7 separate regions of the Homo sapiens genome follow, and regions 1, 3, 4, 5, 6 and 7 are each linked to region 2. The links are contacts of gene promoters, found by promoter capture Hi-C in blood cells and fetal thymus (Javierre and others, 2016). All regions are on one chromosome and are shown on one strand. The core of a region is centred on a gene start or on the middle of the fragment in contact, and the rest is flanking DNA. Distances in the headings are between cores, read along the strand shown. Region 1 overlaps JADE1 (jade family PHD finger 1). Region 2 holds the start of PGRMC2 (progesterone receptor membrane component 2). Region 3 overlaps JADE1 (jade family PHD finger 1). Region 4 overlaps SCLT1 (sodium channel and clathrin linker 1). Region 5 holds the start of INTU (inturned planar cell polarity protein). Region 6 overlaps SCLT1 (sodium channel and clathrin linker 1). Region 7 overlaps SCLT1 (sodium channel and clathrin linker 1).

Region 1 (3,875 bases), core at 610-3,109, 580 kb before region 2:
AAGAAGCCAAGATGCTTCTCCTGATAATGTCTGTCCTTCTGCTGATAGTGCTGCTGGTGTGTATACATTTCTTTTCTGATGCCTCACTCTCTGAGTCACTCATTTCCACATCGGGGACATACCCGTCATTCTCATTGTCGGATTTTAATTTGCTTTTTGCCCTTTCCTTGGCTGGAACTCGGCCTAAGCCCAAATATGGGTAGTCTGAGTGCTGGTGGCAGGCCCCATCGTGGGCCTCTCCCTGCTGCTGCCGTTCCCCCTTCTTTGGAATCCGGAATCCTCCCCAGTTTTTCACTGGGCTGGCAGGTGTTGTAGGCACTTTGACTGCAGTCTGATTATAGTTTACTTTGATTAGGGAGCCATTGCACTTGGGCACTATCTCCTTCCTTGTGCCAGGTGCTGACTGCCCCACTCCAGGGGAGGTGGCAGCTCTTGTGTTGTCCAGATGCCTCTGGGACACATCTGTGGACCTGAGAGGCTTGTGACTCTGTTTAAAAGATTTGTCCTTTAAGTCTCCTTTAATGAGATCACAATGAAAACGATTGTCTCTTCTTTTCCCATGGTCTGGCATCACCACACCATTTTTCTGTTGTGCTGATATGAGACGTGCTTCTGCAAAGGTCTTTTCTAAACCCAAAAAGCTCTCTGGGACCACCATCCCCTCCCTTCTACCACACAGGTCTGGCTGCTTCAGCAGGGTTTTGCCTTCACTTCCAGGGCTATTCTGCAAAGGATCTCGCTTATGGGGCTTTTTCAGCGAATGAACCAAGGAAGTACCCATTTGTTTTCTGAAGAATGCAGAATGCCACTTCAAGTCCTCTATCTTGGGAGCATCAGGGCCAACAGAAGGACTGTTAAACAAAAGCATGTTTTCCAGTGAGGAGGAGGAGCAGGAAGAAGGCACACCTATAAACATAAAACCACAAATAAAGAAAAATTACAGCAGAAGCAAATCCAAAAGAATAAAATTCTACACCCTTAGTGTGGCCCAATTGATGTGAACTCCCCACCCAACAACACAACACTTACACCACCAAGTTTGTACAAATTTGGTTTTTATAGTGAAGAGATGACCTGCCTTGAGAATCTCCATTCAATCTGCAGACTCAATATGCCACATTTTCTAAAACAGCTGAAGCTCACATAATTTTTCATAAAACTAGACCTCCTCCAAACAAAATAACTGATCTGATTTTCAGAGCGGACTCCATGCAGAACTCATCAGGTGGCTGATGGCTGCCTCTGCTCCCTCTACCTGGTTACAGAGCAGCACCTGCGCCGCGCTCCTCCACGGTCCAGTCTTCTGCCTCCCGTACGAGACTGAGAGGACCCAAAAAGCAGGGCTCGGGGCTTGTAAGTTTCTCTATGTGTCTGTACCCTCACAGGGCTATTACGAGGACAAGTACATGTAAACATGTGAATGAATAAAGGAAATGTGTGAAATAATTCTTGACACATAGTAAGCGTTCCAAAAATGTTCATTATTATTATGTGCAAAATACATTTGTGGGATTCAACTGAATTGTCATTCAACTTGAAGTAAGTTAAATTGATGTTTTTCGTATTTTTTGATGCAAATCACAGTGACTAAATTCCACAGCATGACCTAGTAAGAGTTCACATTTCACGAAATAATATTAACCCTCATCATTTGATAATGTACTCTGACATTTCCTATTATACTTTACTTGTTTTTAATACTGGTCATGACCCACTGAATTCATCTCACAACCCACTAATGAGTTGTTACCCCTAGCAGGTGAATTCATAACACATTAGTGTTTGTCATAAAGACCATGATTCTACAACAGCCTCAAGATCATCTAGAAAGAGCAGTTCTCATGTTTTCTGTCTCCCATAAGATATGAGCCACCAAGAAAACAAGGTTCAGCCCCCAGGTTATGAGACAGGAGGCCATATGAGAACCTAGTGCTCACCAGACACAGACACTGCAAGCAAATGAAACATAGCTAGCGACTCAGAACACAGAGCTGTCATGACCACAGGAGGTGTTTTACAACCTGCTGGTTTGGAAATGCTGCTTTCTCAAGAATCAATCATTAGAATCAACCTTCACATCACACTGCATATATTTCTTTTACTCAATCACCTGCCACAGGAAAAGAGAATGGTAAGAAGAGGCTAACATTTTCTGAACTCTGATTTCTATCTCCTTGACTGTAATCCATGTCTCTAAAGAGCCTCCAACTCATGACCCTCCCACCCCCCATAAGCACTGTTGCCACTGAGGACACTCTCAGCAAATGACCCTACCCACTCTCAGAATCACAGAGTTTAAACCATGGACCCTAAATGACATATAAATCATGACCATCTGCTCTACTTCAGGCAGGAGACAGCCTTTAGGCATGAATAAGAACACGACTGAAGCCTAGGACTGGAAAAAGAAAAAAAGCACCCTAAAGGGTTTCAACTGCATTACTCAACAGAATCCTACAGGAAGATAAATGTTTTCAACTGATCATACCTATGGTTCTTACATCAGAATGAAAGGAAGATTTGTTTTCCTTTTCTGAAATAGTAGGACTTCTGAATGCAGATCTACATTACAGCTCTGTTACCACAAAATAACTCCCAGACTTATTAAGAATATCATTCGCTCACCCAGTAAAAACCTCAGCCATGAAATGCAAAAACCTGCCTGCAATATCCATGAGAAATAACTCAAATGAAACCAGATGAAAATGCTCTTTACGGCTTATTTTTACAGGGAATCACTCATTACATAATGACCTAAGAGTTGCAGAAAGCCCTCCAATGGCACAACTCCACAGGCACAACTTGTATTAGTGATCCCAGCTCAGCATTTGCTGCTGTAGGCTCGGTGATCTGCACCAGACAGTCTTCCAAGGCAGTTAAACAGATCTCATTTATTTGTATTCAGGTAGGAATCATGAAGAGAGAGCTCACCTTAGGGAATCTGAATCGACCTACTTTTACATATGACACCCTACTTAGAAAATTTATTTTTAAAATCTTAACAATTAAACTGCAAGTTCCAGCTAATGATATACACTTGATTCACCTGGAAAATACTTAATCTTGGGAAGAAAATATCTAGGATATCAACAAGTTATTGCATTCAAACTATGTAACACTTCAAGAACATTATTTAAACCTCCCTAAACCTTTTTTTATTTCTTCAGATGACCGAGCTCCCTCTAGTCGCACATAATTGGTTAGATAAACCAGAATTTGGATTTCAACACAACAGGTTATAACAACTTCTTTGTTCTCTGTGCACCATAATAATCTAGATGGAGTGACAAAAAGCCACAAATGCACAAAAACAAGAGTGAATCAACTATGATTGCACAACGCAAGCACCAAGAATGGTGCAGCTAGAACTTTAAAGGGCAGTCCAAGGCAGGAGAGAGGCTGACTATCTTCCAATGAAGTCCAGTCTAAGACCTACCTGTTCCATGGGTCCCTAATTCTGCCTGATCCACACTCAGCAGCTCTGCTTCTCTGAAATCCTTATACTACCTACTTTTGGGGGCTTATGATCACAGAATATAGGGCTCAAATGCACTTAAGGGGTCTTGATTCTAAAACAAACTTTAAGATCAACGGAATCTCAGAGAGGTTAAACAACCTGCCCAACTTGATCTTTGCCCTTGATCTCCCAAGTAACTGATGTGTTGTCCAGAGTAGAGGAAGTATATACCCTAGTTTTCTTTTTCTGTTTGCCTAGCCCAGGGCAATATAAAATAGAAGACACTAAATAAATATTTGGTGCTCAATCTCAGAAATAGTCAACAATCCATCTACACAAAAAAAATCTACTGTGAACATTATCTAAAAATGGACTGTGTCTTAAGTACAGTCTTAACATATATTGACCATATTTACCA
Region 2 (4,070 bases), core at 177-2,676:
CAAGTATTGTCTATGGCTGCTTTCTCGTTACAAGGTAGAGCTGAGTAGTTAAGGCAGAGACTTAAAATATGATCGGGCCCTTTACAAAAAATGTTTGCCAACCCCTGCTCTAATGTCTCCCCTAGCTCTGAGTCTCCTCACCTCACGCACAAATACCCTAGCCTACTAACTGCTTTCCCACTCTTTCCCCAGCCTCTAATCCTTCAGACACCTGGTTGCTATACAGCCTCTCTACAAGAGTGTCGACCCTGTCACTTGCCTCGTCAATATCCTCAGTGACTCCTACAAAACCGACAGTGAAAGGTTCAAACCTATTCTATGAGACTCAAGACAACAGACAACAAAGGGCAAGAGAGAACACGTCAAACGAGTTCGTCAAACGAGTTGAGTGCGTGAGACTTCAGAGGTCACTTTTTCACACTAGAATTTCAAGGTGTGAGAGGCTAAAAGACGTCCAAGTACATGAAACAGAACCTGCAAATAAGAGTGAATGACGAATAGAAAGACCACCTCAACCTGTCCACTTCCCTACGGCCGCAGAAGTTATGATTCAAGGAATAATGAGACTCTAAATCCTTTAAAATTCTACAAGAGCAGCCTTTGCCAAACCCAGCGGGGAGTGGCTGCTCGGTGCCAGCGCGAGGAGCACGTAGACTGCCGATGCCAGAGAAGCCCGGTGCGGGTTCCGTGCTTTCTCTCCGTTCCAGGAAGACCCCAGCTCGTGGCCAAATCTTCTTGCCGCTTCCCGGTCTGCGCGCCTACGCTGCCGGTTTCCCGACAAAAGCGACGGCGCCCTGGTGAAAAGCAGACGCCCCTCATCGGTTTGCGCCTTGCAGCTCAACTATGCCCCAGCCTCCCACAAGCCACCTGCCCGCGTCCTCCGCCAGGCGTCCAGCCCGGACCTGCCCCCGCGGCCGCCAAGGCGCACGTGAAGCTCCCGGGCGGGGGGAGCGCAAGGAGGCGGGAGTTTGCGGACGCGAACGCAGGCCTAGGAAGGGAAGCGATTCCAGGGCGCACGCGCAGAGCCTGGAGACTGGGCGGGGCGTGCCTCCCGCAGGGGTTACGAACGAAAGGCGAGCGCGTGGCGCTCAGGAGCCCGCGCACGCGCTGTGGTCTCGCCCCGCCCATGAGCGTCCGCGCGGCCGTCGTAGCATCTTTTCTTCAGACCCGCCCGGCTCGTCTACTTAACCTAGCGGAGGCTTGGAGTGAGAGCAGGGAAGTGTGGGGCGAGGTGGGCGGGGCGTTGCACGCGTGCGCGGCCAGCGAAAGAAGGGAGGGGGCGGGAGATCCGAGACAACGTTACCCCGTCAACACCCAATCAGGAGCCGGCCTGACCCCGCCCCCTCTTCTCACGTTATTGGCTGAGAGGCCCCCAGATGGGCGGGGCCGGCCGTGGGGTTGGGGAGGGCAGGGGGCGGGGAGGAGGAGGAAGGCGCTGGCGGGCAGTGATGGCGGCTGGTGATGGGGACGTGAAGCTAGGCACCCTGGGGAGTGGCAGCGAGAGCAGCAACGACGGCGGCAGCGAGAGTCCAGGCGACGCGGGAGCGGCAGCGGAAGGGGGAGGCTGGGCGGCGGCGGCGTTGGCGCTTCTGACGGGGGGCGGGGAAATGCTGCTGAACGTGGCGCTGGTGGCTCTGGTGCTGCTGGGGGCCTACCGGCTGTGGGTGCGCTGGGGGCGGCGGGGTCTGGGGGCCGGGGCCGGGGCGGGCGAGGAGAGCCCCGCCACCTCTCTGCCTCGCATGAAGAAGCGGGACTTCAGCTTGGAGCAGCTGCGCCAGTACGACGGCTCCCGCAACCCGCGCATCCTGCTCGCGGTCAATGGGAAAGTCTTCGACGTGACCAAAGGCAGCAAGTTCTACGGCCCGGGTGAGGAGTTGGAAGGGGAGGGGAAGGACCCCCTGCAGCTGAAGCACAACCCCCTTCGGACAGGGAGGCCTCTGGGCACCGGGTTAGTTTGCCCAGCCTTCTCGTCTCCGGGACCCCCGCGCCTCGGCCGCCGCACCTGGGACGGCCCATCCCGCCCCTACACACACACCGTCCCCCCGCAGCTACGGGCACCTCCAGTTCTTCCCCCGAAACCAGGGTCCCCGGTGGCGCCCCAGAGACCAGCTCTCAGCATTCATCTTTCTTCCATCCCATTTCTCCTCGCAGCCTTTTTTTTTTGTTTCTTTGGCTGGATTTTTCAAAATCGTTTTAGTTGTCACAGGTCAACGCTGGCCCTTAACCTTTTTTGAGTCTCCTGATTCCTGGGATGGATGGGGCACCAGGGAAGGGAGATTTCTGAAGTTGGGACCTAAACTAAAGTTTTGGGCTCTGTAATTCACCGTTTTCTTTTCCTTGCCCCCTTTTTTTTTTTTTTTGCCACTGATCTCCTTTTTTCCCTCGCTGTATTACTCCGTAAGGCCACGTTTAGGGGCATGTAAAGTCCCAACCCTCCAGTCTCTGAAGTCCAGACGTATAAGCAACACCTCGGACTCTCTTTAAACCAGTTTTAGTTCGGAGTTGCTTTCCATGATTAACAAGGTATGTGGGATGAGAACAGACCAGAATGCAGAGCTTATTAAAGACTGGTAAGGATATTCACCTTGAGTTTTGGGGGTGGAGCTCCTATACCCAGCAGGCGTGTCTCTGGTTTCTTTTTTCTTTTTTTTTCTCTTTTCAAGTACACGTTGATAATGACTTGTGTTTTCACTTAGCAGAACTAAGGAGAAAAAACTTAGAAGAGTTGTAGATTTATACCCCCATGTGCCAGTTATGCAAGTTAAAGATTTTTAGAACTTTGTTTTGAGAGAACTTTGTTTTCAGGGAACTTTGTGTAGGGTAGTTGATTTAGACGCCCTTTTTTTACAGTGTGGTTGTAGCATACATTTTGGATTATGTTAATAAACCCCAGACTCATGGAACCTGTTGGTATATCATACAGTTGAGCAACATTGTGCATCCTGGTTGTGCACTGATTAATACTAAGCTTTAAAAAAAAGTGGTGACTACAATAAGAATAAATAATTAAATTAGAGACCTAAAGTGACCTGTTATTGGAGAGAGTACCTCCAAGCCTTAAAGTCATAGGGTTGGCAGTCTGGAAGTAAGCTGGTTTTCTCCTTAATTTAATCTGTAGGTGTATAAGATTTATTGACACTTAAAAATATATACTTCTGATTTCAGTGCTTGATAGCTGGAAGATATTTTAGAAGTGCTTTGGTTTGTAGTTTGTTCATTGGAATAGGGATAAGAAATAGGAGATTTTTGGTGTTGAATTATGTAATTTATTTCTTAGTTGTTTGTACTTCTGTGTATATATACACATTTAATCCAACCAAGTAAATACATAGCTTACAGAGTTTTTGCTTCTGGTTACATAAATGTGAACACAAGGTGTCTGCCTACTTATATCAACTGAAATGGTTAATACATTTTTGTTTACTTAAGCACACGTGGGACAAGAGAACAGGGCCAAAGTACAGTATTTAAACAGGCCAAGCGAAGTAAATTTTTTTTAAATCAAGGATTTAGACAGCATTTTATACCTAGTTCAAGCTTTTCCCCCATTGGTATTAAAATGTGTTAAGTGATTAGAAATCCTGTACAGGTTTAAATTTTTAATATAGACCTTACCCAGCTAAAAGATCAGCTTTTGTACCCTGTCTGAACTGCCACTGAAGAAAACAAAGTATTAGTACAAAGAATCGTATTAGTCCTCACACATTATGCCTTGGCAGTATCTGAAAATAGCTAAGAGAGACAGTCATAGAAACAGTTTGGCAGCCTCCAGTGGCAAACGTTTGTTCTGTGATAGAAATTAAAAATTAAAGCCAGGCGTGGTGGTTCATGCCTGTAATCCCAGTGCTTTGGGAGGCCGAGGCGGGTGGATCACCAGAGGTCAGGAGTTCGAAACCAGCCTGGCCAATATAACAAAACCTCGTCTCTACTAAAAATACAAGAAAATCAGCTAGACGTGGTGGCGGGTGCCTGTAATCCCAGCTACTCGGGAGGCGGAGGCAGGGAGAGTTGCTGGAACCCGGGAGGTGGGGGTTGCAGTGAGCCGAGATTGCGCCATTGCACTCCAGCCT
Region 3 (3,969 bases), core at 591-3,090, 560 kb before region 2:
TAACACGTAAGTGACTTCAAAACCATGACTTCATATAATGGTATGGATGTTTTTAAAAATTTGCCTTTCTTGGTAGGTAAAACAGTTCTCTCAAAACAGATTTCACTTTGGGCACTCAAATATTTTTAAATGGTTTATCCCTCCTCATCCTCTTACTTCTACAAGGTTGAAAAACATAGTTAACCAAATGCAAAAAAGACTGAAACACCAGGCGCGATGGCTCATGCCTATAATCCCAGTACTTTGCAGGTAGATCATTTGAGGTCAGGAGTTCACGACCAACCTGGCCAATACGGCGAAATCCTGTCTCTACTAAAAATACAAAAATTAGCCAGGCATGGTGGCAGGTGCCAATAATCCCAGCTACTTGGGAGGCTGGGGCAGGAGAATCGCTTGAACTCAGGAGGTAGAGGTTGCAGTCAGCCGAGATTGCACCCCTGCACTCCAGCATGGGCCACAGAGCGAGACTTCATCTCAAAAAAGAAAGAAAAAAAGACCAATAACAGCTAAGACAAACATATTTAAGCATGCGTTCCGTTTATGTTATAAAATTACAAAATTAATCTTGCCAATGTATTCAACAGTATCTTCAAATATGGATTAGCCCAGTTCTTATTATTTAAACCATTCATAAATGCGAAGAGTCTTTGGGCTGAGTCCTCTGACTTAACACAGGACACCTAGATTCCAGTCAAGTGTATTACACTGGTCTTTATAATGTGCTTACAACACAGCAGAAACTGTATCATCTGTGAAGCTAAAATTTAGTATTCAATTCCAAAAGATCTCTGAGAACTCCTGAACTCATGCCATAAAACCACCTTGTGGCCTGCTAATGTTTTGGCCATTAATACCTAAAGCAGGACCAAGAAGAAGGAAGTCTATTTTGTCTATAAAAACACTTGAGTAACTGAGCGAGTAGAAGACAACACCATGCTCAGCTCAGTCTACATTATCACTCCCATTCAACAGGTGGTGAGCCTAATGGCAGGACAAGCATCTACTGCAAGCCACACCCTATGCTACGTTCCCTGGAAAGACGCAAAAGGTCTTGGCCCTTCAAGGCTGTGAAATCCACCATGACAAAAATCTTGTGATTTTTTTTTTTTTTTGAGATGGAGTCTGGCTCTGTTGCCCAGGTGGGAATGCAGTGGCACAATCCCGGCTCAAGGAAACCTCCACCCCCTCAAGTGACTTGAGAAGAATCACCTCAAGTGATTCTTCTGCCTCAGCCTCCTGAGTGGCTGGGACCACAGATACCCACCACGACGCCTAGCTAATTTTTGTATTTTTAGTAGAGACGGGGTTTCACCATGTTTGCCAGGCTGGTCTTGAAGTCCTGACCTCAGGTGATCTGCCCACCTTGGCTTCCCAAAGTGCTGGGATTACAGACATGAGCCAACAAGCCCGGCCGATCTTGTGATTATTTACTATGTCCTAGATTACAATACATGGCCCTTGCCACCACCTCCCCACCGTGTACCTACAGCACAAAAGCTAATTAATCCTCACAGTTTTTCACACTGAGCCCAGACTTGACTCCACTGTCTTGTTCATCAAGACCCTCAAGGCAACCCTTAGCAATCAGGACTGGCATGTGAGATGAGACCTATACGCCATCCCAGTCTCAACACCATGAGATGCTCCAACGTCTACATACGCTAAAATGAGCTTGCAGAAAAGAGGTGGAGAAGGGCTGGGCACACAGCTAATGTCAGGCTTCACTGAAGGAAAGCCAGGACAGAGATAAACGGAGGGAAAAAGAACTCCAGGTTTGCAGCATGACATAAGGAAAATCGCTCAAGTTAAAACACACATGATGTGCTTGGAAATGGGGAGCATGCCTGGAAGAGTGTTCATTTAGAGAAGCAGCAAACCACGGCTAAAGAAGGAATCCGAATGGCATCACAGGAAAAAAACACTAGAGCAGGTAACTGTGGGCCATGCCCTTTTGTCACTTCGTTTCCCTGGACTTCAGCTTCCTTAAGGTAAGTGAATGAGGGAGTTAGATCAGAGCGGGGATGGGAATCCCTGGTGCCTGAGCCGAGGAGCCTTGCTTCCACTCTGAAACCATCTCAGCACATCTGACACAGCCAAACAGGCTGAGATCTAAGGCAGGGCTGCGATTCTCACTGACTAAAGCTATGATGGAGCTGCCTGCAACTGGCAATAAGGAGCTTTCTGCTACTCACCTACCTGCCTAAAATGTCTCTATTCATCATTGGTTAATAAAATAATAGAATACATGGTCTCTCACCCATCTCCTTAAATTCTTCATTGGTCAGTTCCAGCCATGCAGCATCCATGTCATTGAGGTCATAGCGACACACGCTGTCAGCCAGCGTCCGGATGTCCACATAGCCCAACTCGGGAGGCTCAGAGCCTGATGACACGATGTACTTCTTGGGCCTGATGAACATGAGGGATTTCTCTTCAGACACAACCCTGGATAATAAAAAAACAAGGCAGCCAGGTTACCCTTTCAGCCACAGACAATGAAGTGTGCCACAAGGCCCCAAATGTCTTCCTCTTCCAACCCTTAGAGCCCCAGGTCATCACCAGAGGCTGAAAACCTGAATGTCACTGCTAATAAAACCTTAACTAGAAGTTGTTAAAGCCTGCTAACAGGCAATAGATACAAATGAAAACACTGTAGAAGCCTTCAAAATCTGCTTCCCGGGACCCTGCTGTGCCCTGCCCACCACCTCTGACCACTCTGGCCTGCAGCCAACACCAAAACACACTGACCCATACATTTCAAGAGTTAGTCATTAAATCACTTTCCCTTAACCAGACCTGCCCATCCCTGCTGGAGGCCATTAGAACCAGGGCACCACACAGGCAGGGCAGGCGCAGCAGACTCTGAGAACCAGAGGGAGAAACCCGCCAACCCTCACACCTCACAAAAAAAAAGAGGGAGAGAGGGAAAAGAAAATCAGGCCTTGGGCTGGGGCAAGGTGGCCCAAGCCTGTAATCCCAGCACTTTGGGAGGCCGAGGCAGGCGGATCATTTGAGGTCAGGAGTTTGAGACCAGCCTGGCCAACACAGTGAAACCCCATCTCTACTAAAAATACAGAAATTAGCCAGGTATGATGGCACACGCCTGTAACCCCAGCTACTCGGGAGGCTGGGGCAGGAGAATTGCTTGAACCCAGGAGGCGGAGGTTGTAGTGAGCCAAGATTGCACCACTGCACTCCAGCCTGGGCAACAGAGTGAGACTGTCTCAAACGCAAACAAAAAAAAGGAAATAAGACCCCGGCCATTACCAAAAAATCTAAGAAACAGAGTCCCAGCCAAGAAGGGGACTGACTCTCCCAACATATACCCATGATCCCAGGAACAAAAGCACAAGTTTCTCCTCCTGGTACTGCCACACAATCTCTCCCGACCTTTAACACCTGGAGTGGTGCCTTCCAACTCACCCCACTCAAAATAAGACTGCATGTGCAAGAGCAAATCACTCCCGACTTGGAACCAAAAAAAGGCCATCTTCCTAATCACAGACCCCAGGCCTCAACAAAGTCCTTCCACATATGCATTTCCACAGTTTAAATTACTGTCAACAGGCTGCCCAGAGTCTGTCAGAGTACCTTCATCACCCTTATATTACGGGAGTGATTTTATCTACGTGACACTGACATGGACAAACTGAAGGGATTTATTTCTCCTACTCAGCCAAGAGCAGGGATCCAACTTGCTCAGGGCTCCAACTTTAATACAGCTTGTAAAACTTCCACAAGCTGTATTAATGCTCACTTCTGTCCTGGCTCCCCACTGAAAGTGAAGCATTCAGCAAGTGATTCCTGGACTGGGGCTGCCAGTGCTGAATCAGGTGATGCTGCATCTCAGACACAGGCTCTGAGGCAGATACCTGGTCTGCCCCGCAGGGCCCCATGACCACTCCATTCCACAGGTCCAGACTCTAGCCTGTGGGGGCCATCCTGGCACTCCTGACTGGTCACCTAAAC
Region 4 (4,013 bases), core at 1,395-3,894, 650 kb before region 2:
CATGCTTTTATCTAAAGAGCTTTTAAAAATATAAGAGAAAACTATTTGTAACCGAATAAAAAATCATGTGAGAGTTGAACAGAATCTGCAATCTAAGAAAAAAAAACAGTAGGCAGTAAGCAGTTTAAACTCACCATTAATTAATTGCTAAGTATCTCTAAGTGAACGTGCAGCTAAAAGTATTAAATGGTACGTATTTACTTTAGAGTCTAAAATTCAGTCATAAGAAAGTAATTAAAATATTTCATAAATAAGTTCATTGCAGCATTATTTATAATAAATTAGAAACAACCTAAATATCTAGAAGTAAATATGTTACATCTATATGTATAGTAAAATTATGGAAAATACAAAACATTAAAAAAAATATATAAAGTCCCTCTACTCCCAAAACTCAGATAATACTTCTAACTTCTACATAATTGCTTTTATTTATGAATTTTAAAATTGTTACTATAGTGTATAAAGGATTACTACCTGTGTGTACACATATGTATTTTTGACATATAGTGTATATGTTTTTAATAAGATACTGTATTGTCATTAAAAACTATATTTCCAAATAATTTATAATGCATTTATATTGATACACCCTATGATTGAAAAATTTATGTGTATACACACATACATGTAGTAATCCTTTACATACTGTAATAACAATTTTAGAATTCATAAATAAAAACAATTATGTAGAAGTTAGAAGGGATTATCTGAGTTTTGGGAATAGAGGGACCTTATAGTTGTCTTTTTAATGCTTTGTATCTTCCATCATTTTATAATATATATTTGTTTTGTTTTCTTTTTTTTAATCATGGGTGGGGATGGAATCAATGAATTTTCCCTATCTAGTACTCCAGTTGATCCGTCTTTAACATTTCACTTTAATGCTTTGTTATTTTCCATAATTTTACAATATGTATTTGTTTTGCTTTCTTTTTTTTATAATGAGTGGGGATGGAATCAATGAATTTTTCCTATCTAGTACTCCACTAGATCCGTCTTTAACATTTCAGGATAGTAACTGATGTTATGGACAACAAAAGAGTAATAGAAAGTTTATCTACCCCACATATCTCACCAAATCTGTATCTAGCTTAAGAGAATAGCCATTGATAAAGAGCCGAACGTCTTAACTAACTAGCTATAATTCTATTTTATGGAGGAAGAAGGCTGTAAGATAAATTGCTTTGTAACTGATTCTTTCTTTGACAAAATAGGAACCTGGTGCACCTACACCTTGCTGTTTTTCTCCCTCTTGCAAAAGAGTATGATCTTCAGTAGATAAACTGAAAGAAGCCAAAAAGATAAAGACAGTGAGATATTGGGAGGTCAGTTGGCTACAAACCTTAACAATTTATCATATGAAGTTTTCATTTGATCTTAATGCCACTGCATTGATTTCAGCCCTCGCTTTCTCCTTTTCTAACCACTCCTTTTGCCAGGGCTCTCCATTTCTTCATGGTCTAAATTCCGCCTCATTACCATCTAAAATTAAGAAATGGAGTCGTTTCCAGCAATTCAGTTATCTACTTGTGTGGATATTTCTCTGTAAAGGAAGGAAGAAGCAAGAAAGAAGAGAGACCATAAAACCCCTTTTCCCATCCAACATTCTGAATTTTATCATTAATAGAATTTTTGTAATCGGAGATCAGTTGTTGTGGCCCTTAGCCTGTCAGCATTACCACAGACCTGTCCAATTTAGGTAGTAATTCGAATTGTATATACTAAAGGCTATGGTGCTTGTTCGAGACTGAATTTTGACATCAAAAAGCCACCATTCAATCTGCAAATATGTTTTGACAACCGTACTGTGTTCCAAAAGTTGAAATAGGTAAGCAGAAAGAGATTATTTCAGGCAAAAGAAACAGCATGTGAAAAGAACCAAAGAATAAAAAGGCATTATAGTGGAAATAAAAGAAAGGCAAGGGAATAGTGTGGCACAACACAAGCTTGTAAAAGTAAGCAGGGACCAGGTTATCATAAAGGGTCTTAAAGCAAAGCTTGTGAAACGATAAATAGATTTTCCAAGTGAAAATGGGGAGTTAACTAGGCAGCCAAATTCTAAAACTGTACAGATGCATAGATCAGTTTTGTGTGCATATGTGGTTTGTTGTTGTTGTTGTTTTTGTTGTTTGTTTGAGAAGCTCTGTTGCCCAGGCTAGAGTGCAATGGCGTGATCTTGGCTCACTGCCACTGCCACCTCCCAGGTTCAAGCGATTCTTCTGCCTCACCCTCCTGAGTAGCTGGGATTACAGGCACCCACCACCTCGCCTGGCTAATTTTTGTGTTTTTAGTAGAGATGGAGTTTCACCATGTTGGCCAGGCTGGTTTCGAACTCCTGACCTCAAGTAATCTGCCTGCCTCAGCTTCCCAAAATGCTGGGATTACAGGCATAAGCCACCACACCTGGCCCATAGATCAGTTTTTAACATGTGTTCATAAGAAAGAACTCACAGGGGCTGTACTTTTTGTTTTCCACCTGAGATGTTAGACCAACATGACTTCTCCAGAGGAGATGAAGATTAAGGAAGGGAAGGAGAAAGGGCAGGCAATCTAAATTTGCAGAATCTAATAATTCAAAAATTATTAAGATAGCAGCAGGGGTCAAGTGGCCTCAGGAGGCTTGCACAGCAGTAATACAACACAAAACTAACACATCCAAGATTGGTTTTCCAGTGTCTGTATTTATAAAGTCTTCAATTTCTGCATGTGTACTATTTGAGAAAGCAAATTGAAGAGTTTTAGGAAGCATTTTGCATTTAGCAGGGGTGGCAAGGACAGAATGTTTGCAGTTTGCTCCAGTGAGCCAAGAATTTTGTTGTTGTTGGGCCTTGTTTTGTGTTTTTTGACACACTAAAGTTGATCTCATTGTTTTTTGAGTTTGAAAGTAACCGTATTTAATGAATTACTCTCATTGTTTTTTGAGTTTGAAAGTAACTGTATTTAATGAATTACTAGAAGTCTAGCCAGCTGTGGACATTTGTAAAGCAATTAAAGTATCACAAAATAAGTGTTCTTTATACTTCTTTAGTATAGCAAAATATAGATGGCCTGAGAGTACAATAAGGAAGTCAAATCACCTTGCTGCCTTTTTCCACAAGTGTTTTTCATCTGAACCACAAAACATAGAAAAATATTGCAGTAACTTTTTTCTCAATTTCCCCAAAAATGGTACTTAGGTAGTTACATTGTAGACACAGATGAAAGAACGCAAGTCATTATATACATTGGATGCCTTAAAGCATTAGGGCTTAATTCTCTCCCTGAACCCCAGCAGAGAAAGCTTCTAGGGTATCCAAAGAGCATTTACTTATAAGTTCATGCTGCAATTAAAGTGCTTTTACTATAATGACATAAATTCTTAGAAGTGTACTGAAGACATTTTCGTAAGAGATTTTCAAAATCATTGTTTATATTGTCTCTTTCTCCTGAAAAATAATTCATTCATTAATCATTCACTAATACTGGAGCTGAAGTGGTAAAGAAATTCCTGTATATAATTATCTTTGACTTTACAAAGCCCTTTGAAAGAGTTTCAAATTTAGTATGTAAGTCAAAAGTGGTTTGAGTAAATACTTAACTCAGATACCAACAGCATCAACACTTTCCTTGGATTCTGGCAACAGAAATCAGAGTAAATAAAGAGAGAAGTGTTATGTTATAATAAATAGACTTTTCTTTTACTGGCATTTTAAGGTGTTAGGGAAAGTGTTGCAAAAATATATAGTTCATCATAATTCTAGTTTTACTGACATAACATTATAAGTTTTCGTTTGTAATGAAGACCAATTGTAAACTTAATTTCTTTTTTCTTTTTTCTTTTTTTTTTTTTTTGAGACAGAGTCTTACTCTGTCACCCAGGCTGGAGTGCAGTGGTGCGATCTCAGCTCACTGCAACCCCCACCTCCTGGGTTCAAGCGATTCACCTGCCTCGGCCTCCTGAGTAGCTGGGATTACAGGCGTGTGCCATCACGCCCAGCTAATTTTTGTATTTTTAGTAGAGATGGGGTTTC
Region 5 (4,065 bases), core at 252-2,751, 660 kb after region 2:
TCTTGTGAAGAGGGGTCTCCAGGGAGCTCGTCTGAGCTCGGACGCGAATCGCACGAAGCCACAGAGGCCATCGTCAGGAATGCAATAGCTACGAGTGGAGTAATTCAAATCTCGCAGCTATAGCTTGCTAAGGCCGCCATGTTGCCTCTGCTTGGGAAGGGGCAGAGGCCATGTGACCACCAATCCTTAGCTGCAATTGGTGGCAGGTCGCGTTGCCAGGGAGACGGAGAAGCTTCCCAGAAGAAACAGGGAGAACAGAAAGCAGCCAATGGGCTGAAACTTCCAGGAGGGCTTCTCAGTTGGAAGGATAGAAATAGCTAAAACTTCACCGCTTACGCTCTCCGGAACGCAATTCCTTAGAGCAGCATAACCTGTTAAAACAGGCGGAGATGCACTGGGCTTCTCACCTTTTTCTTCCAGTGCTGGATATCCAGTTTGCTCTTTGTCCTGTGTTTCTAATGCCTAACAGCTGTCGGTCAGCCTGGATTTCCTTCGAGGTGAAGGAAACCGCACTTTACCTTTCCTTAGGACCTCATCCGTGCAAGTAATGGACGCTTTTAAGCAACGCGATCTAGGTGTTAATGTAAATACGCTCCATTGTTTTATGGGTTTCATATTGTTTCGCAATTGCAAACATTTTCACGGTTATCCCAAGTGGGTATTGTAGAGTGCCACAAATGAGTGGCAATCCTGTGGAATCAACTTCATGTTCATTTTCTAACTCAAAATTTTATAATCTAATTAAGTGTTCTCATTATTAAAGTTGGAAGTGTAAACAGGTAAAATCTACCTGTTATTTATGAATACCTATATCAAGTATTTTTTAAGTACAAAAATAACAGCTAGCATTGATTGAGAGTCAGCCTTGGCTCTGCTCACTTTATTCATATACAATGCTGAGCATTCACATACTATGAAGTAAATATTTTCTCTATATTAAATAAGGAAACTAAGCTTTAGAGAAGTTATGCATCTTACTAATGGTTACATGGCTAGCAGTCAACAAAGTCAACCAAGAAATGAACCTAAGTCAATAACCATTACATGAAATTTCCTCCCTCAGAACCCAGTAATTCAACTATTAGATATCTACTCTGAGAAAGGATGCAAATTTATAAAATTTGTAAAAGTGAAAAGCTGAAAGCAATCTTAAAATGTCAAATAATGGGGGAAAAGTTAAATATATATAAAATATGATGATTATGATTTTAACTAGAATGTGTTCAAAGAGTAAAGCATGGGGGAAATGTTCATGTTGCAGCGTGTAAAAAAAGGATATAATGTTATTTTATGATCTAAAAGGCTGGGTGCTGGGGATTCTCTAATGGGCAATTATAACATAGTGATAAGTATTACAATAAATACAAGGTTCTAATGGAATATCCAGAAAAAACCAAAGTAGTATACGTGGGGCCATGACAAATTTCTTAGAGGAAGTATTAATTTATATTGTTATTATGGCATGGTTCCAACAGAGAAAGAGTAATGGGAGATGAGTCATCACATGGCCGGTATGGGTATATGCATGGAGAACTCAAAGGAACCTGAATTGTAGCTGTTGCAGGGGCAGAAAAACTCTACCTCCATCTTCTTAGGGTCCCAGCTGGGCCTGAGAATTAAACTTACCTAAAATAGATTAACAAAAGAAAAGCAACTGGAACTTGTTATACAGATGTTGAGGCCCTGCTCCACATCAACAGGATCAGAATCTCCAGTGGAGGGGCCTGGAAATCTCTATTTCAAACAAGTGCCCCCTGTGATTCAGCAAACTTGGGGAACTGCCCTAAATTTTCTCTCAGTTCTGTGCTTCATCTATACAGGCCAACTGGCCATTCCCTGAATAGGCTGGAACCCACTCCCACCTCGCAAATTTGAGCCTGGCAGACAGACCTCTCTCCTTGCTCTAGAATCCAAGTTTTACATGGCAGGGGAGCCCTCATAAAGAAATGAAGACCCAAAGAAGCAGTTAGAGTCAGTTAACTTATATACTGGATTGGACAAAGAATAGTTAGTTGTGAAGAAGCAACTAAACTAAATTGGGAAGCTTAAAAGATAAGTTATTTTAACAAGGTCTGTACAGAATTCTCTTGGTTTCACTTCTATGCCCTTGAGAATAAGAATGTTACATTTTTCTAGTATAGGGAGGGTGTCTTTCACATGGGAGCTTCATCTGTTGCTTTTAAGAAGCAGCACAAAGGCACTTGCTGTTTTTCAAGTGTATTAAACTTAAATGGCCAGGATAGTATATTTTACCTTCCTCACAGCCAAACAAGCTGCAGTATGCAGCTTATACTTTTAAGCTGAAGTTTAGTTGTATTTACATTAACTGTACATTACATGTACAAATATACATTAAACTATGTACATTTGAATTTGTATATTACATGTACAAATGTACATTAAACTATATACATTTGAATTTCCTAGGTTTTATGGTTTTGTTTTAATTTCTAAATGTGTTTTTATAGTGTTATAACAGCGATTACATTTTGTAATTTATTTGTATTAATTCATAAAATTGTTTTCATCTTATATAGGAGCTATAAAGCACAGATTATACCTCATTTATTTAAAATTATAATTAAAAAACTTAAGTCATCCATGGAAATCCACAATAGTTTTTCCTTAAAAGAGGTCTATATGTTACTAAAGTTGAAGAACAGGAGGAGGAGTTTGTAAAGGGGTAATGGGCAAAAGGAGTGTCAGAGGCATTTGAACCAGAGCGACTCCATCTTGAATAGGGGCTGGGTAAAATAAGGCTGAGACCTACTGGGCTGCTACTCAGGAGGTTAGGCATTCTTAGTCACAGGACAAGATAGGAGGTCGGCACAAGATACAGGTCACAAAGACCTTGCTGATAAAACAGGCTGCGGTAAAGAAGCCAGCCAAAACTTACCAAAACCAAGATGGCTACAAAAGTGACCTCTGGTCATCCTCACTGCTCACTATACGCGAATCATAATTAGAGTACAGTGAGCAGTGAGGATAATGAGCATTAGTTGCTAAAAGACACTCCCATCAGCATCATGACAGTTTACAAACGCCATGGCAATGTCAGGAAGTTATCTAATATATTCTAAAAAAGGGAAGACCCCTCAGTTCTGGGTACTACTCCCCCTTTCCCAGAAAACTCATGAATAATCCACCCCTTGTTTAGCATATAATCAAGAAATAACTATAAGTATACTCAGTCAAGCAGCCCATGCCGCTGCTTTGCCTATGGAGTAGCCCTTCTTTTTTCCTTTACTTTCTTAATAAACTTGCGTTCAATTTACTCTATGAACTTGCCCCGAATTCTTTCTTGGGTAAGGTCCAAGAACTCTCTTGGGGTCTGGATTGGGACCCCTTTCTGGTAACAGGAGGTCCTTGAGGTGGTAGGAGGGGATAGCATCCAAGGCACAGAAGGAGGGATATGACCTCCCTGGACACCTCTTCCCTAAAACTAGAAGAAAGAGCCAAAGAAGGGTGCTGGTGTGGATGGTGACTTGCCAGTTTCAGGCAGGAAGCTGAGGCAGTCTCCATGTGACAGTGTTTATCGTCTGGTAAGTAGGCTGCAACCTTGCCAGCTGAACGTGATGGAGGAAGTAATGGGGTCGGAAGTTTGAAGAAAGTGGAGACAGGAAGGAAGGGAAACAAATATTTCCATTAGCATTGAGATCCAACAAAAAATGTATTACTTTTAAAATCAGAGAAACAATATTATTTTAAAAAGCTGGAGTCCCTATACTCATTATTTTGAGTTTCATGGTAAAATATATATGCTTACTTTCACCACAATCTTAAACATTAGAAATGATTTAAGATTCCATTTCAAAATAAAAAGTGCTTTAGTTACCTCTTTAATAAGTTAACCTTTCCTTGTTTTAAAAGCAACTTATTGGAAGTAAAAAATAAAATAAGAAATTAAAAAAGGACATTTACAAATTTTAGGAAAATATCACATTTTCTTCCTACAAATTTTTCATCAATTTTTTTTTGTAAGCATCTAGTAGTTTCATACCCTGCCTCATAAACCTTGCATGGCACCTCCTTAAATAGAGAACAAAGTCCAAACTGTGTAGCTTC
Region 6 (3,880 bases), core at 1,216-3,715, 630 kb before region 2:
TATGAGAATCATTTGAACCTGGGAGGCCAAGGTTTCACTTAGCCGATATTGTGCCACTACACTCCAGCCCAGATGACAGAGGATCTGCATCTGTTGAGATGATAATGTGATTTTTGTTTTTAGTTCTGTTTATGTGGTGAATCACATTTCTTGATTTGTGTATGTTGAACCAACCTTGCATCCCAGGAATAAAGCTTACTTGATTGTGGCGGATCGTCTTTTTGATGTGCTGCTGGATTCAATTTGCTAGTATTTGTTGAGGACTTTTGCATCTATGATCATCAGGAATATTGGCCTGAAGTTTTCTTTTTTTCTTGTGTCTTTGTCAGATTTTGATATCAGGATGATTATGGCCTCATAGAATGAGTTAAAGAGAAGTCCCTTCTCCTCAATTTTTTGGAGTAGTCTCAGTAGGAATGGTATCAGCTCTTCTCTTACATCTGGTAGAATTTGGCTGTGAATCCTTCTGACCCTGGGATTTTTCTGGTTGATAGACTTTTATTATTGATTCAGTTTCTGAACTCACTATTGGTTTGTTCAGGGATTGAATTTCTTCCTAGTTCAATATTGGAAGGTTGTATGTTTCTAAGAATTTATCCATTTCTAGGTTTTCTGGTTTGTGTGCATAGAGATGTTCATAGTAGTCTCTGAGGTTATTTTTTTTTTGTATTTCTGTGGGGTTAATAGTAATATCCCCTTGTCATTATGATTATTTATTTGGATCTTTTCTTTTTCTTTATTAGTCTAGCTGGTGGTCTATCAATCTTATTCTTTCAAAAACCAACTTCTGGATTTGTTGATCTTTAGTATGGTTTTTTGCATCTCTATTTCCTTCAGTTCAACTCTGATTTTTGTTATTTATTGTCTTCTGCTAGCTCTGGGGTTGGTTTGCCTTGTTCCTCTAGGTGTGATGTTAAGTTGTTAATTTGAGGTCTTTCTAACTTTTTGAGGGCGTTTAGCACTATAAACTTCTGCTTAACACTGCTTTAGCTGTGTCCCCAAGATTCTGGTATGTTGTATCTTTGTTCTCATTAGTTTCAAATAATTTATTGGTTTCTGCCTTAGTTTTATAGTTTCCCCAAAAGTCATTCAGGGGCAGGTTGTTTAATTTCCATTAATCATATGATTATGAGCAATTTCCTTAGTATTGATTTTTATTTTTATTGCACTGTGGTCCAAGAGTGTGTTTAGTATGATTTTTTTTTTTAATTTGCTGAGGATTGTTTTGCAGCTGATTGTGGTCAATTTTAGAGTATGTGCCATGTGCAGATGAGAAGAATGTATATTCTGTTTGTTTTGGGTGGAGAGGTCTATAAATATCTGTTAGGCCAATTTAGTCAAATGTCCTGTGCAGATCCTGAATATCTTTGCTAGTTTTCTGATTTGATCATCTGCCTAATACTGTCAGTGGCATGTTGAAATCTCCCACTATTATTGTGTGCTTATCTAAGTCTCTTTGTAGGTCTCTAAGAATTTGCCTTATGAACCTGGGTGCTCCTGTGCTAGATGCATATATATTTAGGATAGTTAGGTCTTCTTGTTGAATTGAACCTTTTACCATTATGTAATGTTATTCTTTGTCTTTTTTGATCATTATGGGTTTAAAGACTGTTTTGTCTGAAATTAGAATAGCAATCCCTGCTTTGTTCTGTTTTCCATTTGGTTTTTCTCTTTTCCTTTATTTTGAGCCTACGGGTATGTTTGCATGTGAGATGGGTTCCTTGTAGATCACATACAGTTGGGTCTTGCTTCTTCATCCAACTTGCCACTCTATGCCGTTTAATTTGGAGCATTTAGCCTATTTACATTCAAGGTTAATATTGGTATGTGGAGGTTTGATCCTAGATCATACATTTGGTCTCTTTACATAATCCTATATTTCTCAGAAGCTTTATTCATTCTTCTCTGTTGTTTTTTCTTTGTTTTTATCTGAGTTATTTCAGAGAAACCAGTCTTCAAACTCTGAGATTCTTTCCTCAGGTTGGTTGATTGCACTGTTAATACTTGTGATTGATTGTATTATGAAATTCTTGAAGTGAGTTTTCCTGCTCTATCAGTTCAGTTTGGTCCTTTCTTAGAGTGATCATTTTGTGTTTTATGTCCTGTACCATTTTATTGTATTCCTTAGTTTCAAAGTTTGTTTCTGACCACTCCAATATCTGTCATCAGACAGATCTGTTTCTTTTGGTTCCTAAGCATCTTATCTGGTTTCTCTATCTATTTATTAGTAATTGCCATTGAAAATTTTTGTTGTAAAGCTTCCATAGAGAATCTTTGCCTTTGCCTCTTCTGGGTGCCTGAGAGCACTACTGGGTGTGAGAACTTCAACTAAGGGTGGGGTTTCTGGGCTTTGTTAATTTTGAGGTGTATCTGTGGTCTGTGGCCACAGAAGAATACGTTTTTTCTTCTGCTTTGTTCATAACCAAAGTAGCTTCCCTGTAGTCCTGTGACTTTGAGAGAAGTGGCATGCTTTCAGATATGGTTCACTTTAACCTTGAAGTGATGCTCTTTTGGGATGCCAGATCAACGATGGAGAGGATCTCTCCACCACACCCCTTTCTCTCAGTGGTAACAGGGTCAGATCCCAAGTGTGCAGTATTGTAAATGCCATCCAGGAAAGAGGAAGTATTGGTGCTCCAAGATTCTGTTAGCTTTTCTCATTATAAGCTTTCATTCAGAAGTTGTCTTGGAACATTTTCACTATATTTTCCTCTGTTTGATGCTTTTACAGAGTTGTGGAGTTTTTACTGAATTGATTAATCTGAATAACTTAGTATACCTTTACTAGATCCAAACATATATTCTTTAAAAGTATCCCACCTCACTTAGCACAGTAATCGAGAACTTGGCTTCCAATAATTATTGTCCCATACAGAGTTTACATATGTCTGTGGTCAATTACAGCATCCTGGAAATTGAAATGGACTGTGGCTATAAAATAAATTATCAGAACTATTGCTGGGGATTAGTATCAGGATCATTAAAACCAATGTGGCACTTAAATAATACATAATAATTAAGAAACAGTAGTTGATCTTAATATTATTTCTTGACTAAAATCAATATGTTGTGTACCATTATATTTTAACTATATTACTTTGTGTGAGATGGTGAGGCCAGATGCAGATCAAGAGAGAGAAAATGGAAAGAGTTTTACAGTTTGTTATGCTCACAGTTCCCTGGACAAACACAGCACACCACACAGGACCACTCGAGAAGCACTGGGGTCAGTCACGAGGTAGAAGGTGAAGGGGGCAACTGTGAGCACACATTTTATTGTGGTTTTTACAGAAAGGAACAGGTGACGCCATGGTGAACAAGTTTTAGATTGGCTGATGTGAACAAGTTCAGTGGGCTCCACGGCGTAGTGGCTGTTTCTGGTTTGGTTGGTTGGTTGGTTGGTTTTTTCTGGTTCCTGGCCCTAGAGTGATTACGGCAGATGTAGTGGCCCAGAATGTGACAGCCCAATAAGGGAAGTGGTTGGAGTTGTACACTCAGCTTCTCAAAACAGGAACTGACCAGCCTCTTTGCCAGGGTCTCAGAACTAAGTCAAGACATTTAAGTCTTGACAAGTCAGAACTAAGTCAAGACGTATAACTATACTATACCTTGAAGCAACTTATAGTATAGGAACCTAAGCCTATGATACAAGGACACATTGCTCTAATGGACCAAAAGTGCCTAACTTTGATTTGTTTTTACACTGTGTTGAAACGGTAGATGAAAAAGTAAGTGTCTGTTGCATTGGCTGAAATCTTCAAAACATCTTGAAAAAATGTACCGTAATTTTTAACTATGTTTCTTCCTTAATGATGGACTGCCTGTGCTGAGGATGTCCTGTAAAGACTTCAAGTCTTTTAGCTTTTTCGTCAGTCAGTAT
Region 7 (3,665 bases), core at 107-2,606, 600 kb before region 2:
TTTCCAGATATCTATTCTAATGAGTAATTTAAAATACAAAAAAAATTTGAAAGAAGGTACTCAGTACAGTAATGTTAATAATATAGGAAGATCAAAAGCAACCAAAATGATGAATAGAAAAGGAACAGTTGCATATACTAGGATTTATCCAATCTGAACTGTTCCTCAACCATTATGGTAGCAGTATAGAAGAAGTTGCATTATATGAAGTCTGCGTATAAATATGAAAATGATTATTACAGATGATGGAATTTTTTCCCCCGTTTTCTCTAGCATATGATGTGCTTCTTAAAATTTAGAGGCTACATATTTAAACATCTTGGTAAATTGGACCAGCCAATATAGTTCTCTTCATAACATTTAATTTTGCTTTTGGGCATAATAAGAAATATAATAAGCTCATTTTAGCAGGATACTGTTATTTCAATATTTTATATTACTGTAATAGCCATAACATTCATTCTTATCACTTGTATGTTAGGACATGGGAACTATAAGTTTCTGGTTCTTCATAGAAAATGTGTTTTTCTAACTCTTCCTGATTAGGCTTGTATTATTATCTCATTCAGATAAGTGCCAGAAAAACTGTTTAACAATTCTAGTTGTACAAAAATATTTTTTTCAGATGTACTATAACCAGGCTAGTAAGTGTGGAGAGAGCTAATCCATTTTTTAATTTCCATTTTTTAATTGATAGATTATTTGCACTTGTCTGTCTGACAGTATGTTGTGACAGCTTTGTATTCATGATGCCTGTATAGTTCTTGCCATAACAAAGTATTAGAAACTGGGTGGCTTAAACAACGCAAAATAATTGTCTCTTAGTTCCAGAGGCTAGAAGTCCAAAATTGAGGTATTGACATTGTTAGTTCCTTCTGAGAGCTGTGAGGGAGAATCTGTTCCATGCCTTTCTCCCAGCTTCTGGTAGCCTCAGACATTCTTTGGCTTGTAGATTGTGTTCTCTCTGTGTCTTCAACTTGTCTTTCCTTTGTACATGTGTGTCTCTGTGTCCAAATTTCCCCTTTTATGAAGACACCAGTCATATGGATTATGGTCCACCCTAATGATCTCATCTCAACTTGATCATCAGCAAGGACTCTCTTTCCAAATAAGGTCACATTCCCAGATACTGGGGGTTAGGACACAATTCAACCCCTAACAGTGCCTAATAGCTCTTTTGACCCTAATAGACTCTGGAGTATGCAGATGTCTTGGGGAACATACAGAAACAGTTCATCCCACCCCTACTAAAGCTCTGGTTGTAAGGCCCAGCAGTCTGTGTTTTCACAGTCCAGGTGATTCTGAAGCAGTGACCTTCACAAATTGAAAGTCTTATTCTTCCGAGTCATTTTGCTTTGAGATTTGTTAATTCACTTTCTTTGCTGGCATGTGGGAGAAAGAAAACAATTTATTAAGAATGTAAAACAAAGTTTGTATTTTAAAGCTCATAACTTGAAAAATGTAAATTTGGAGATAATATTCTTTGTATTTTATAAGTGGTAAAGTGATGTCCAGATTTTTCGTTGATTATTCCACAAAACATCTCCATGTCACATATGGATTTCTAACTTGTTTTCTATTTCCCCTTAATAGAATGAAAAGCTAATTCTAGAGCATCAAGAAAAAGCCAACAGACTTCAAAGGCGTCTAAGTCAGGCAGAAGAGAGAGCTGCTTCAGCTTCCCAGCAGGTAGGGAGCATCCTCTTATCCCTAGATAATAAACAGTTCAAAGATAAGTTTTTTAGAAGTTCCCAGGGAACTTAATAGTTTATTTTTACTAGATTAACATATTTTAAAATTAATCCCTTTAATATGTGAGGTTGAAAAAGTAAACATTGGAAACAAAAATAAGCTATGCGTGGTGGCTCGCAACTGTAATGCCAGCAATTTGGGAGGCCTAGGCAGGAGGATCACTTGAGGCCAGGAGTTCAAGACCATCCTGCAAAACATGGCAATACCTTTTCTCTACAAAAAATTTTAAAAATTAGCCAAATATAGTGGCGCATATCTCTGTTTCCAACTACTGGGAAGGCTGAGGCAGGAGGATGGCGTGGGCCCAAGAAGTCGAAGCTGCAGTGAGCCACGTTTGTGCTACTGCACTCCAGCCTGGCGGACAGAGTGAGACCCTCACTCTGTATCAACAAAAAAAAAAAAAACAGAAAAGACATATACTGTCTAACAATCATAGCCTCTAGCCACAGGCCACTATTTATATTTAAATTAATTTAAATTAAATTAAATTTAAAATTGAAATCATCCATCATACTAGTCAGATTTCAAGTGCTCAATAGCTGTATGTAGCTAGGGCTATCACATTGGACAGCATAGATGTGGAACATTTCTGTCATAACAAAAAGTTCTGTTACACAACACTGCTCTAGAATTATGTCCTATCTAAAACCAGGCAGAGATTCACTAACAGATTTGAAAGTAGATAATATTGCTTTGAATGTAATATTTCAAATTTCACTAACTTTGTTTTTATTTTACTTATCAGTGGAAAAAAATTCCTTGGCTTACAAGTTAATTTACTTAATGCATATTTTCATATGACCAAAAAAATCTAAAATACAATATAAAAGTTGTCCAGTGGGAAATAGAGTAGAAAATGCAGAATAACAATGAAATACTAAGGGATAATTTCTCTTAATACACACACATCATATAAATGAAGTAGGCCCTTGATTGTAAAGTAGGAGCAATAGTCCCTCATATGAGGAACAAAATGAGACCAGTTCAGTGATTATAGACTAGACACAGACAGTTGAAATGGATAGATAGATAGGGGAGGCGAGAAAACAAAAACAAATCAAATTACTATATTATTAATTATATTTGCTTATAAATGTATTATTTCAATCAAAATTAATATTATTCTTAACTATTACAGCATTTTATACATAGTAAAGCCACTCTGCTTGCTGAATTCAGTTTATGTTCATGATATTTACAGATTTTTTTGAATCTACTTCTGTTATGAACATGGCATGCCACTTAAAGAAAATTTAATAATAATTTATCCTTCTGTTACTCTCCCTCTTGAAAGTAATTACAGCCTTTTCAAATAATTTTTATGTCTTATGAAGTTATGAATTAACTAATGGGTTAGCTAATTATGCAAGAATGTATTTAGGTTATAAGGTAACAGAAGTTAGGTGCACTGGACAGTATCTGGCAAGTATGTGTTTTGGTGTCAGGCAAATCGCTTAGTGCCATTTAGTGCCATTAAGTAAAAGCTTGTGACTTTGGGCAATTTCAACTTCTCTAAGCCTCAGTTTCCTCATGTTTAATATAGGATAATAATACCTCCCTCATACGGTTATTAAAGGATCAAAAGAATTAACACATGTAAAGCATTTCCTATAGTGGTAAGTAGATATTTAGACAGATATGTAAGAAATTAAATTTCTGTATCATAATCCTTAAAGCTTCACGTTTACCTTTTTTAAGGCAAATGGCAAAGAAAACGTCTACGAAAATCAACTACCTTGAGTTCTATAGTAAAAAGGGAACGATTACAGGACATTAATTATATAACCAGTTAGCATCTAGTTTAGTTTCTCCCCTGAAAAAATTAAACCTAAACAGTCTAGTACTGATGTTTCTTCTGTTGTTTAAACTCTCCAATGGCAAAGATTCCACCGTTCTTTTGACTAACCTTTTTA

The links. The method cuts DNA at HindIII sites, captures the fragments that hold promoters and counts their contacts. A CHiCAGO score of 5 or more calls a contact.
Region 1: a contact is called between a fragment that was not itself captured here and the fragment with the promoter of PGRMC2 in region 2, in 17 of 17 cell types (neutrophils, total CD4 T cells, fetal thymus and 14 more). The highest score is 11.0, in neutrophils.
Region 3: a contact is called between a fragment that was not itself captured here and the fragment with the promoter of PGRMC2 in region 2, in 13 of 17 cell types (non-activated CD4 T cells, naive CD8 T cells, naive CD4 T cells and 10 more). The highest score is 10.7, in non-activated CD4 T cells.
Region 4: a fragment that was not itself captured here is called in contact with the fragment with the promoter of PGRMC2 in region 2 in 1 of 17 cell types (neutrophils); the score reaches 5.6 in neutrophils.
Region 5: a contact is called between a fragment that was not itself captured here and the fragment with the promoter of PGRMC2 in region 2, in 1 of 17 cell types (monocytes). The highest score is 5.4, in monocytes.
Region 6: a fragment that was not itself captured here is called in contact with the fragment with the promoter of PGRMC2 in region 2 in 6 of 17 cell types (total B cells, naive B cells, monocytes and 3 more); the score reaches 13.0 in total B cells.
Region 7: a contact is called between a fragment that was not itself captured here and the fragment with the promoter of PGRMC2 in region 2, in 1 of 17 cell types (neutrophils). The highest score is 6.6, in neutrophils.

What each region holds. Positions count from the first base shown.
Region 1 is chr4:128,868,386-128,872,260 of GRCh38, reverse strand. JADE1 (jade family PHD finger 1) reads right to left here. Exons shown (of 11, transcript NM_199320.4): 11 at 1-906. Among named protein-coding and RNA genes, the nearest start is that of JADE1, 61 kb to the right of the region's middle. The HindIII fragment of the contact is 4,763 bases long and covers 1-3,875 here.
Region 2 is chr4:128,285,169-128,289,238 of GRCh38, reverse strand. It overlaps PGRMC2 (progesterone receptor membrane component 2), which reads left to right and starts at 1,426. Exons shown (of 3, transcript NM_006320.6): 1 at 1,426-1,866. The coding sequence starts at 1,449. RefSeq lists silencers at 131-425, 797-986, 1,307-1,486, 1,497-1,546, 1,727-1,786. The HindIII fragment of the contact is 4,970 bases long and covers 1-2,970 here.
Region 3 is chr4:128,847,456-128,851,424 of GRCh38, reverse strand. JADE1 (jade family PHD finger 1) reads right to left here. Exons shown (of 11, transcript NM_199320.4): 5 at 2,258-2,445. Among named protein-coding and RNA genes, the nearest start is that of JADE1, 40 kb to the right of the region's middle. The HindIII fragment of the contact is 9,059 bases long and covers 1-3,969 here.
Region 4 is chr4:128,937,099-128,941,111 of GRCh38, reverse strand. The region is part of intron 17 of SCLT1 (sodium channel and clathrin linker 1); the gene reads left to right. Among named protein-coding and RNA genes, the nearest start is that of JADE1, 130 kb to the right of the region's middle. The HindIII fragment of the contact is 1,283 bases long and covers 2,003-3,285 here.
Region 5 is chr4:127,629,041-127,633,105 of GRCh38, reverse strand. INTU (inturned planar cell polarity protein) reads right to left here and starts at 149. Exons shown (of 16, transcript NM_015693.4): 1 at 1-149. The coding sequence starts at 71. RefSeq lists enhancers at 120-299, 1-501. The HindIII fragment of the contact is 1,090 bases long and covers 957-2,046 here.
Region 6 is chr4:128,916,525-128,920,404 of GRCh38, reverse strand. The region is part of intron 18 of SCLT1 (sodium channel and clathrin linker 1); the gene reads left to right. Among named protein-coding and RNA genes, the nearest start is that of JADE1, 110 kb to the right of the region's middle. RefSeq lists an enhancer at 3,184-3,233. The HindIII fragment of the contact is 409 bases long and covers 2,261-2,669 here.
Region 7 is chr4:128,886,703-128,890,367 of GRCh38, reverse strand. SCLT1 (sodium channel and clathrin linker 1) reads left to right here. Exons shown (of 21, transcript NM_144643.4): 20 at 1,594-1,689. Among named protein-coding and RNA genes, the nearest start is that of JADE1, 79 kb to the right of the region's middle. The HindIII fragment of the contact is 3,764 bases long and covers 1-3,238 here.